Regions from separate parts of the Homo sapiens genome. Here region 1 is linked to region 2. Evidence: promoter capture Hi-C in human tissues and cell types (Jung and others, 2019). All regions are on one chromosome and are shown on one strand. Each heading gives the region's core, a stretch centred on a gene start or on the middle of the fragment in contact. The rest is flanking DNA. Distances are from core to core; before and after follow the strand shown. Region 1 overlaps ELF1 (E74 like ETS transcription factor 1). Region 2 holds the start of KBTBD7 (kelch repeat and BTB domain containing 7).

Region 1 (5,922 bases), core at 1,980-4,479, 220 kb before region 2:
TGTTTTCTTTTTCTTTTTTTTTGAGACAGGGTCTTACTCTGTCACCCAGGCTACAGTGCAGTGGCAAGATCACAACTCACTGCAGCCCCCACCTCCCAGGCTCAAGTGATCTTCCCAACTCAGCCTCCTGAGTAGATGGGACCACAGGCAGGCACCACAACACCCAGCTATTTTTTTAATAGAAACGGGGTCTCCCTATGTTGCCCAGGCTAGTCTCAAACTCCTGGGCTCAAGCGATCTTTCTGCCTTGGCTTCCCAGAGTGTTGTGATTGCAGGCATGCGCCACTGCGTCTGGCCAGTATTTGAGTGTTTCTGAAAAAATCCTGGCTTCTCTCTTGCACAGCACCATCAAAAACATAAAGGTCTAAGTAAAATGGTCTTTTCTCCAGAATTCCCCAAGATAATGTTTGAAATTCCATTGCAAATCCTTGTGGAGTTATTTTTTAACAAAGTCTAATCCTAGTGTAACTGTGTCATGACAATTGGCTTTCTTTAGTCTTTGCCTAGATTCTTCTTTTTGTAGCCAGGATAAATTACAATTTGGCCATACATCTCAAAAAGTAAGAGTCAATGAGAATGATCTGTTTTCTTATTGGAATGTCCACATTAAAAGCTTAATAGTATTGGTGGGTTGTGTATGTGTGGGTATATGTAAACAGAATCAGTTATGAGGTAAACAAACAGGTAGTTTTTTTTTGGGGGGGGGTATAGTAAATTTTAACCAGATGTAAATGTTTACTTTACTTACAAACTAAGTAGATTAATAAATATCAGAGTAGTCACTACCAGACAGGTAAGTGTTTTAAACATGCAGATTCCATATAACTCAAAGAATTTTAAAAAATCATAAAGGGCAATTTCTGCTATGAAAAGATGGACTTTGACAAGAATCTTATACAATATGTACACAGCAAAGAATAAAATGAGGTAAGGCATCCTTGAATACAGGCAGTTTAGCTACAATAGAGTCTCTCCCAGAATGGAAAATTCATACTACCTGCTCATAGGTATGGGAGAAATTAGTGGTACTCCAAAAAAACTGAACAACGCCAGGGCAAACTATGTCGAAACAAATGTTAAAGGAAAATGCTCCCTTACGGCATAAGTCCACCAGATTTTTAAAATCCTGAGTCACAAGTTTATTGGCTTATTCTAGAATCAAGACAGCCATTCTGGATTATCAAAGGAAAAATGTGACAACAGAACAAAACAAAACGATCTGAATGAATTTGTATAACTGGTATGCAAGTCACAAAAATCACTTTCATCACCTCACTTACCCAGTTGGATAATAGAGATTATCCAGTGTAAGACAAGAGCTATTAAAGCTTTTTCTTGATTTATCTCAGGTCATTAATATGAGGACTGTTCCATGTACCATGCTATAGGTAAATGCATTGCATAAGCATTTAATGCTCATAACCTTGGGAGGTAATTCTGTTATTTTTGTGAAAGAAATAAAGCTCAATGATATGTAAAAACTTGTCTAAAGTTACACAGCTAGAGCCAGGCTCCCAAATTGATGTTTTTTTAATGCCATATCACACAGACTCTTGATTGACAAACATCAGTTTTCATGATTAAATGTTATGTCAAAGTTGTGGGCAGTGGACTGAACACACACTAATCAATCACTGTTTAAAAAATCATCTCCCACCTAAGTCTTTAAATAATACATTATTTCCGAATGTGTGTGTTGAGGTAGGAAAGGGGAGGGAGGAGATTACAGATAGCTGGGCTTCCCAGTAGCTCCTTTCCAACAGAACAATGGAATTTTGTTCTAAAAGTTCTTGTTTTTATTTTGCATATGCCACAAAATAAAGTAGAATAGGGCAAATGCAGAAATCATGTAAAACCATAAAATATAATAAATCATTAAACTGTCACCTAAAAGATCACCTTTTAGGAGGGAAGCTTCTTTCCTAACTTTAATCTTCGCATCATCCTGCTGATAAGTTTCCTGGTCTCGTATCTTCAGTACTTTCAACATCACATTTAGTGGGAACAGGTTAAATGGGTCAGCTTACAAATGTTTTACCAGTCAAAATATTATAATGTAGCATTTCTAACAACAATTCCTTGGCAATTTTCCAAAAGAAGAATTGCTCTAATATTGAGAATTTTGGTTACTATTTCTAAAACACACACAAACAATTATTTTCATCAGTACTCTCTAAATATGTTGAAAATGACCCTCTTTTTTAAAAAAGGCCAGTTACACTAACTGTTTATATAACTGCCTATCTTTTATGTGCTATGTGTTCACTGAAATGGAAAGGAGACAAAAATTTTCAAGATCACATAGCAAAACTAAGACACATCAAAGGTGTCAAATGTTAGGGGAAATTTTTTTAAGTTATTTTTAGAAGCAACAGAGGTGCTAATTTCCTTTTTTTTTTTTTACCCAGGAAGGCTATTCTAGGTGATTGAGTATTTTCTGGGAGAAGACGTTGCCAACTCTATTTCTGACAAGAAACTGACCAACACAAACCTCATTTTAAAAAGTGTTCTTTGAAAATGTGTACAGAATGGATAAATAAAATGTGGTATATCCATATGATACAATATTATTCAGTAATAAAAAGAATGGAGTAATGATACATGGCACAACACAGATGAACCTTGATAACAGGATGCCAAAGTAAAAGAAGCCAGTCGCAAGACAGCACATATTCTATGATTCCATTTACTATAACTGAATTGTCCAGAATAGGCAAACATACAGAGACAGAAAGTAGATTAGTAGTTCCCAGGAGCTAGGAAGAGTGGGGAAGAATAGGTCATGACTGCTAACAGGTACAGATTTCCCTTTGGGGTGATAAACATGTCCTAAAATTGATTATGGAGACAGACATACAATTCTGTATAAACTTAAAACCATTGATTTGTACACTTTAAGTAGATGGATTATATGGTATGTGAATTACATTGCAATAAAGCTGTTTTTTTTAAAAGGTACATATACAGGTATGCCAGGCATAAGAACCATCTACCTGTAATTATACTAATTAGCTAAAATTAGTAACACTTTTTTGCCAAAATCATAAATGCAGGATATAATAATTCTTCCATATTTTAAACTACTTTTCACCACTTACATGTTGCAGTGGCTAGTATTATTCAATTAGTGGTTAAAGGCACAGGCTGGGTTACAATTCCTAGCTTTATCACTTAGTAGCTATGAAATTACAGGCAAGTTGCTTCCCTTCGCTGAGCCTCACTTGACTCTTTTGTAGTGAGAATTAGGAGCACCTACTTCTTAGGATTGTTGTAAGAATTAAATAGGATAATCCCTATAAAGCACAGTGCATGGGGCAAGATGCTCACTAAACACTAGCTACTAAAATTCACCACTGAAAGTTTCTGAAGCCCATCTAGTCCATGTTCTACCCTATACAATGATCTCATCTTATTCATTTTCAGGACGTTATCCCTGGGCCTCTGTGGGATGGCTAGGGGGCAGTTAAAGGAAGATTTTGCAAAAAAGAGTAATAAGTTCCTACTCTCCACACTGACTCCTCTTTCATAACAACTATCAGCCTCCTTGCTGCCAAGAATGGGCAAAGAGATAAGCCAAATGTTAGACCACAGGCAGGGTTGTTCCTTCACTTAACCTGAAGAGGGCCTCAGCCTTTATGCAAAGTCAGATCTCCCCCAGAAGGCAATCAGGCTTGTAGCTGGGGACTCTAAGACATAACTCCTTTGATAAAGACTTTTCCAAGTGTACCAAAAATAAACAAGCAACCTCTGTATATTAGTTTCACAAATGGCCAAGCTTTTAATGGATTTCTTAAGTTTGATATGACAAGATTTAAAAAGAAGGCAACCAAAGCAGATAGAACCTGGAATTTTAAGGTAAATAACAGAGGATCCACTAAGTCCACGTACAGATCAGTAGCAACACTCCAGCTTCCTGCCCTTCTCATCACTGGCGCTGAATAAGTTACACATTAAACACTATCAACTCATTCCTTCTACCTTACTTTATGAGGTACACCTAATCTCTGACCTAACAGAATCTTGCCATTCCAGTTGAAAAATGGCAGGTTGGTGTGACTTATCCTCTTACATACAGGAAATAGCATATAAGGAAAAAGGAAAGTTCTATATGAATGTTAGTTTCTCTGATTTTTTTTTTGAAAAACAATTTTAATATACAACAGAGTAGAGGGAAAAACAAAAGCATCCACATGCCTACAACCAGATTTAATAAATGTGAACAACTGTCATTTAACACATTTTATTTATTTACAATTTCAATGACAATCTTTAAAAGTTATTTGAAGTGTTTTCCACTAAATGTACAACAGATCAGTTCCAAATACTTCAGAAAAAAGATTCCATGAGCATCTGTTTCTGGTCTTAGAACTGTAGTGACATGGCTACATTGTCCCTGCACCAAATGAGAATGTGGACAATAGGTCCTGGGAAAATGTATTCTGTGGTCAAGACAGCTGTGGGCAAGGTATCACCCTCTCATTATTCAGAGATGCTCTGATATGATAAGAACCATAACTGAACACTTATATATCCCAGATCATCTAGCAACAGGTAAGTTTTACCTATTTTATAGAAGAGATCACTTATTCAACAGATTTTAAAAAGAAAAAAAATCTTTAAGAGGACTCAGTGATATTAAAGGCTTTGGTAATATTAAGGGGAAAAAAGACAATGTCTTACTTCAAATAATTTAACACATTTGAAAAAATTAGTAATGTGTATATGAAAATTTAAGATGGCAAACGTGAGACTGATAATAAGCAACATAGAAATAACAGAATAAAGTTGTTAATTCTTGAAGGAATTATTTTAGGATGAGTTCCTGGAAAAAGTATGCTTTGTTCTAAAATCTTGAAAGATTATTAGACTTAAATATGCAACAGGTATGAATGTTGGAGATCATTTCTGAGCAAACAGTGGGGAAGCAGGAAAGCATTCTGGAAAATTACATAGTGTGAAACAGGCACACTGTGAAAAGTTTCTAACCATAAATTAAGATGTTTGGACTGATAATGAAGTCAAGAGAATCTGTTAAAAGTTTTGGTACACTCTACTGCTCTAGAACACCTCCTCTTCTTCATCTGTCAGATAAACTAGATCCTCCTTTGAGATCCAGTTCAACTTCCATGGTGAAGCATTCCCAAAGTTGCAGTGCAGTCAATGGCTCCATTCTCAGTATCCACAGCACTTTGCATTTATCTGTGTTACATTGAATAGTGTTTCCCAAACACTGCATGAAAAAATCACTGGGCAGCTTGTATAAAAGACAGCAAGGCACTGTTATTCTTTTTGTTTTGTTTTGTTTTAGACGGAGTTTCACTCTTGTTGCCCAGGCTGGAGTGCAATGGTGCGATCTCAGCTCACTGCAACCTCCACCTACCGGGTTCAAGCAATTCTCTTGCCTCAGCCTCCTGAATAGCTGGGATTACAGGCATGCACCATCACGCCTGCTAATTTTGTATTTTTAGTAGAGATGGGGTTTCTCCATGTTGGTCAGGCTGGTCTCGAACTCCTGCTCTCATGTGATATACACCACCCGCTTTGGCCTCCCAAAGTGCTGGGATTACAGGCATGAGCCACTGCACCCGGCACTGTTACTCTTTAACCTCCAGGAATTAGCAGTCGGAGGAAGCCAATTTACACCCTAGAGAGGAAAGTGCTAAGACTACCTTCTTATATTGTGATGAGATTCTATAAAAATTTGTTGTTCCACATGTTCATTTTTTCCATGTCACCAAACTTCTCTCTAGTGACTTAAGTCTATTAAACACAAATATGATTTGCCAGAAATTCTACTTTTAAAACCAATGACTGAAAAAAAAATACAGTGTTTTTTTCATATAATATATCAAAATTATAAAAAGCATTAAACTATGCCGGCTGTTCTTCATTAAATTAACTCCTGGAACATTTAAGTAAATA
Region 2 (6,883 bases), core at 4,251-6,750:
TATGGGCGCACGCCACCATGCCCTGCTAATTTTTGTATTTTTAGTAGAGACGGGGTTTCACCATGTTGGCCAGGATGGTCTTGATCTCTTGACCTCGTGATCTGCCCACCTTGGCCTCCCAAAGTGCTGGGATTACAGGCGTGAGCCACCACGCCTGGACGTATATTATTTCTTTCGCCCTATTTTGGGAATTACTCTTTCACCCTACAAACATTTGAGCTATGTGTCTTGTGAAAAATGCAAATTTCTTTTTGTAGATATGTTCTTGAGACCTTGTCACAAGAGTTTTTACCCTGGGTGTGTGGATGAACTTCAGAAATGTCATTATACCCTTAAAATTATGAAATTATGAACATATGAATTTTCCTGAAGAATGGGTCAAAAGTTTTCATCATATTCTCTATTAAGATCCAGGCACCAAAACAGAACAACACTGCTCAACTAGAGGAGATATGAGGGGCTATTATAACTTAATCCTAAAACTAAATTTAAACAAGTTATTTGCTAAATTAGTCTTCTATTTTACCTTTTTGAAAACACCAGTATTACTTACTGTTGAATTTAAAAACATGAAATAAAACTAAATCTTACCAATGGCAGTCCTACAAATGACATTATAGAAAGCATTTGCTAAACGATGTGCTGATTAATTGGAAAACTTAGAAAAGGGTTCTTGTCATGAAGATATTTCAACACTGCTAGTTCACTGCACAGCAAGAATTTTGTACATTTAGCAGAACCATTGAATTAGAAAGTCAGGAAACCTGGGTTCTAGTACCAGTTTTATTTATAACTAACCATGTACAAATCACTTATCTATAAAATAATGGTTAACATCTACTCCTTAATTCACAAATAGATCACAAAACCAAGATCCTTCCCAAGAAAACCTTACTGTAAACCAAGACATTCCCACTATTTAGACTAGGTTTTAACTCAAAGGTTAAGAACTCAAAGGTTGAGAAAGACAAACTGGAGCATTTGTCTTTTATTTACCAGTTGCATACCTTAATTCTGCAGATGGATAATCTGGTTGAGATAAGCATTGCCATCTCTCAATTTTTACAAAACAAAAAGCTACCAACAAGAAGTTAATGGTGAAGAAAAATTTGTCTCAAAAATAACACAATTGAGAAATAGCTTTGTATTAAGTGCAGTACTTATAACATCCCTGATGTCAAATGTACAAAATTTAGCTTTAGGTCACTAAAGCATGTTTACCCTTTTGAAGAAACATGTATTGCTAGGTCAGCCATCCTACTTCACTGGAAATAACGTTAAACTTGTAGACTGTTCAAATGGCCAATCAAAATGACTAAGAAACATTATCGTGTGTTTTTTTGTTTGTTTGTTTTTTCATCCTTTCTCTTTCCTTTTCGTTCAAAAATTCAGTTCCCCATCCTAGACCAGACTCCTCTGTCCTCTGCCAGGGTATAAGAAAAGTTAGCATTCTGTCACTATAGAACATAGAAGAGGAATTAGCATGTTATTGAATAAAGAATCAGGAAGATAATTCTAATTGGGTATAGAAAAATTTATACACCATAAACATCTGTATATGTACACCATTTATCATATATACGTATTGTGACAACCATATGTATTAATAAACCTTCAAAAGGTAAGCACCTATATTTTCTTGTAATTAACAATTTTAGTTTTGTGCAATGTAGTCTATATTTGTGGACTTCCCCTTACATATGGTGACAGAGAGACTGAAACATTGTTCACAGAGAAACACAGAACATATACAAATCTCATAATAAAATAACCATGTATACCACTGTTTAGGGAAATATTTTAGAGGAAACATACTTTCACTACTGGCCCCAAATCCCATCATCCACTTAGGTTCTTCAATGTCAACTTTTAATACAAAAATACCTTCAAGCTGATAATTAAGAACATTCACAATGACTTACAAAATGGACAATATTCCAATGCTACACAAAACGGTTCTATAATACACAGCTTAAAGTTTTAAAGTTCTTGGCTGGCAGTTGATTTTTTTTATAGCTGATAGACACGATAACTACTGATCTGAGTAAAATACTGTTTTTAGCTTATACATATGTTCTAAACCATATTACCTCACAAAACAGTAAAGAATAAATCACTTTCTGTTGAAGAATCCTCTAGGACAAACACCAAACCTACACAGCCAAAATATTTTAGGGAGGCAAGTAAACATTTTAAGACAAATCATGACCAGTGGATAAAAATTTGCATTACCCAATTATATGTCCAGGAATTGTTCCTCTGAGTCAGTAAAGCATGTATTGGGCATAAATTAAAAACACAAACATAAAAAGCAAGTTACCGTTTTTTTTTTTTTTTTTGGTTTAGAAGGGTGTTTAATTCATGACATTACTAAGAATGGGTGTTTTTTGGGATAGAAAATTGGTCACATATACCAAATACACATTTTATATTCCAAAATAAAAACTGAGATTTCTTTTAAAACAGTGGAATCCTGATTTTTTCTTTTTTTTTTTTTTTTTTTTTACTTTCTGTGAGCTTATGAGGCCATTCTGCACATTATCAAAATGAAATCATTATGCAGTAACCTTATATATATAAATCCAATTTTTTCCTTTGTAGAAGAAAACCAAAATAATTTTACAAACTACATTTAACTTAGAATATAAAGAACTGACTAGTGTAAAATTTTGAAAATCTACCACTTTATTTTGAAGGAAAGTACACATCCTTCAAAACCCCGCTAACAATTCCTAGTTCAGTTTTCTATTATACAAATCAAAAAGTTAAATTCCTTGTGGCACTAACCAAAACTTAAAAATTAACAGAAGACTGAATTAATTAAAAAAAAAGCATACTAACTAATCAAAACAATCCACTGTGCAATGAATATTTGAACAATGAAAAAAACCTACCAAGCATCCTAATCAATTATATAGTTCTTGCTTCCATATTTTAATTCTGGACTTTCAGGATGGTAAATTATTAAACAGGTCGATTTCATGGACTGTCTAAACCTTGTAGTATTTCAAAATATTACCCTTTCTAAACCAAATCTGTGGTCCTAATCAACTTTTTTTCCAAGAAAAAGAAACGATATGTGTTTAAAATACATTCCGTAGCAGTAGAAACATCTTAGTGTCTCAAAATACTATTTACAAAGAACCCTGCTGATCCTGTGCATTTCGCTGAGGTGCTACTTGCACCCAGACTTCATCATCTGAAAAAGAACTTGAACTTCCTGACTCAGAGTCCAGCTCACTGAATCCATCTAAGTCCCATTCAGTACTAGACTCACTCCGTGCATCATCTTCCTCAGTAATAAAACTCTGACCAGGTTCAAGGCAGGAAGGATAAACACGAGCACAAAGGCAAATAAAGCCAGAGTCAAACTGCAAAAGGCCTAACATGGTACCTATATTAATCCACTGATCTTCCCTAGTATCATACTCATACACTGTCACTCGGTTCTTTTTCCATTGTGGGGTTGTAGAAGTGATGAGAAGCAACTTTTGGTCATGATTGACAATCTGGTAGTTGTGGGTCTCTGAATCCAAAGGAATATTACTAATCCGCCTCCATTCTCCCCTAGCTGGGTTGTAGACCTTCATGACTGGGATGTCACAGATACAATAGATTTCATCATTGAAGACACATGCTTCCTGAAAGTCACTACGTTTAAGAGAAGCACAGTTCAGCCACATATTGTGGCTAGGATCATAGCAAAGCATGCGCTTACTGTTGACAGCATAAAGATAGTTCTGAACCACTATGAGTTCAAAGGAATAGAAGGAATGAGGGACAGGAGCCACCAATGCCCACTGGTTTCTCTGAACACTGTAGCATTCCACTTCCTTCAACTTAACTCCAGTAATAGGGTCTCGTCCCCCCAAAATGTAGATGTAGCCATTGAGATATGCCACATCCATGCCCTCACGACACAGCAAGCGATCTGCAAGTTGCTGCCAACTATTCTGAGCTGGTTTATACACCCAGAGGTCTTTCCTGGGCTGAGCAGCTAGATAGATGTCATGGTCTGGGGACACACAGACAGCTGAGGAGGTGACAGTCTTAGTGTGAGCAAAGCTGGTCAAAGGGGATGGCATTGTGTAAATGTCCCCCGAGTAAGGGTCATAGCAGAGAAAGGGATCTCTAGGATGTCCAAAGAAGATCACCATCTCCTTGGCACACATACCCAGTCTCTGGGGTGGATTTTCTGCTGCAGATACAAGAGAGTTGCTGCTGCTACTGCTGCTGCTGCTGTTTGGCACTGGCACCAGAGACTTGTACAACAGGTCACCATAGCGCATCTGCAGGGCCCCTTCAATAACGTCCAGGCAGTACTTCTTCACGATGGGCTTGGTCAGCAGCCCTTCTAAGTAGTCCTGATCTTCTTCAGTGAAGTGCATCCAGCGCACGCACTTGAAGACTTCTGCAGCACTGGGACCCCGCTCTTTGGCAGCAGCCTCCAGCCACTGCACAGCTACATGGCATACAGTCCGCTCACTCTCTATGTCCAGACTATCCAGGCGTAGGACAGCCAGCAGCTGGGCCAGGGTTAGATCTGCTAGAGTCTCCTCCCGAATTGAACCCATTCGGCTGAGCTGCTTGAAGTTGTGAGCTATGTAGGACTGGGCCTGAGATCGAAGCTTGTGATGGTCGAAGGCGTCTGCAAACTTGAGGATGGCGGTGCAGTTGGTCAGGTCAAGACGTCGGGCTAAGAAGGAGGCACAGGCTTCCCGCACATATTCCAGCTGTAGCATGTCGGAGGCCGCGTACAGGCGCTGCACATTGGCCTCACTGAGAGACACACGACCCGTGTAGCAGTAGTCGACCAACACCTCGAAGGACTCGGCGTCCACATCGTGCATGGTCACGCTGGCCTGCTGGCTCTCGTACATGCCACCTGTGAACATGCTCTTGAAGTAGGGACACGCAGCTGCTAGCACGTTGCGATTGCAGGAAAAGAGGCGACCCGTGCCAGGCCCGCTGCCAGGCGTCACCACCTCGATGGTCACATCACACAGCAGCCGCGCGTCGTAGAAGGACTTGAGCTGTGCCAGCAGGGCTGCAGAATGGGCCGTGTCCTTTAACTCCTCTGGACCCGTGAAAAAGGCCGAAACCGAGGGCTTGGAAATCCTCTTGGGCCGCCTCCCACCACGGGGACTGGCGAGGCGGCGAGAGCGCGGGACGTCTTCCCGGGACTGCATGGTGGAGATGGCGACGGGCGCTGACGGCGAGAAAGGCTGCAGGACCAGGCTCTGGCTCCTCCTCAACCTTCCCTCGCTGACGCTAAGACAAGCCGCGTCCTGGAACAGACTGCGGCACGGGCCGCACTTCTGAATTCAGCCCTATCCCGCGGTGAGGCCTCCCTTTATTGCATAGACAGTGGCTGACTCACCCTCTCTCACTCCCGCGCCCTTTCTCCGCCTCCGCTCGCCCTCACAGGACCCGCTGGCTTGCAGCCGCGGAAGCCCCCACTGCCGCGCTGGCGATCCCGCTAGGCGCCCGGGAGAACTACTGCTCCCAGGTTGCCTTTCGCGCCCCGAGGCCTGCTGGGGCTCTCGGACGGCCGGGCGGGGACAGAGGGAAAGAAACCGCTTTGCATGTTGGGAGTAGTAGTTTGTGTAATATCGCGAGCTGTCCTTTAGTTGACTGCTCTAACAGTAGAAATTAATTCTCCTGGATTTGATGGTGAAGAGACTGTTGCCCAGGCTGGTCTTGAACTCCTGAGGGCTCAAATTATCCTCCTGCCTCGGCCTCTCAATGTGCTGGGATTACAGGCGTGAGCCACCGCCCCCTGCCAGTATTTCATAGGGTTTTGTGTGGTTCAATGATACCTTACATGGGATACTTAGATACATGTATGTTTTTGGTTAGAAGAATAGTAAAGCGTTACCCCGTGCCTAGAATGTAGCCAATAACTGTTAGATTCTCTTTTATAATTTATGATAAATGAGGCACCCACTAATTTGAAACCGAGTATTATTTTAAACCGCAAAATTTTACAAAGAATTTCTAGTTTTTAATGTTTATTCCTTCGAAAGATTTTGAAGGGCATTAACAATATTTTCAATATTAAATGATATCTATTGGTCTCGTTTAATAAGGATGTCTTAGACGACTAGGTTGAGGTCCTAAAGAACAGTATTAATAGATGGTCTCAAATACGCAAATCCAGCATATAAAAATAAATTATTTGCTGCTCTCACTAACATTTCATCTCTGGAGAGCAGGAGTATTTTCGTTAAGCTCCAAATATGAGTGTTTTCAAGTCGTCTAATACAGCCTCTTTCACTGCCGTTCCACAAATCAATTAACAGATTATGTAATTCCCTTTATTAAGGAGTTTTAGGGAGTATTTTAACTCAAAATATTTCAACAAACAGACTTTGTTCTGTACAAAAGCACATGATTCTCAGAATTCAACATCAGTACATGCCCTGACATTCCTTGAATTAATATATAGTATAGTCTATGCTTTACAAAGTCTTTTATATTTGCATTGGGATCAACAGTTAAATCATCAAAATCAAGTATTAGAGATTTGAGGCAGGAAAATAGGGTCTGGAGGCAGGGAACATAAGGCTGATTCACACTTTAGCTATAACAGGAAAGATCCTCTCCATAGGGTGTATGCTGAGTAAATGAGTTTGTAACTTTACTTCATTCTCTTCATTTACATAGGGTGTACACCAAGTAACCAGTGGAATCCTCTAGAGGGTATTTAAACCTTCAGAAATTCTGTAACAGGGCCCTTGAGCCCCTATGCTCAGGCCCGCTCCCCACTGTGGAGTGTACTTTCATTTTCAGTAAATCTCTGCTTTTGTTGTTTCATTGTTTCCTTGCTTTGTTTATGTGTTTTGTCCAATTTTTTGTCCAAAACGCCAAGAACCTGGACACC

What was found. Contacts are between HindIII fragments. The study calls those that stand out against the background at their distance.
Region 1: a contact is called between a fragment that was not itself captured here and the fragment with the promoter of KBTBD7 in region 2, in 1 of the 25 tissues and cell types used here (dorsolateral prefrontal cortex).

What each region holds. Positions count from the first base shown.
Region 1 is chr13:40,971,254-40,977,175 of GRCh38, forward strand. The region is part of intron 2 of ELF1 (E74 like ETS transcription factor 1); the gene reads right to left. Among named protein-coding and RNA genes, the nearest start is that of ELF1, 45 kb to the right of the region's middle. RefSeq lists an enhancer at 3,723-3,872. The HindIII fragment of the contact is 4,519 bases long and covers 971-5,489 here.
Region 2 is chr13:41,189,069-41,195,951 of GRCh38, forward strand. KBTBD7 (kelch repeat and BTB domain containing 7) reads right to left here and starts at 5,501. Exons shown (of 1, transcript NM_032138.7): 1 at 766-5,501. The coding sequence starts at 5,189. The coding sequence ends at 3,135. The region is part of intron 3 of KBTBD6-DT (KBTBD6 divergent transcript); the gene reads left to right. RefSeq lists enhancers at 4,243-4,950, 4,951-5,657, 5,002-5,271, 5,582-5,671. The HindIII fragment of the contact is 7,226 bases long and covers 2,154-6,883 here.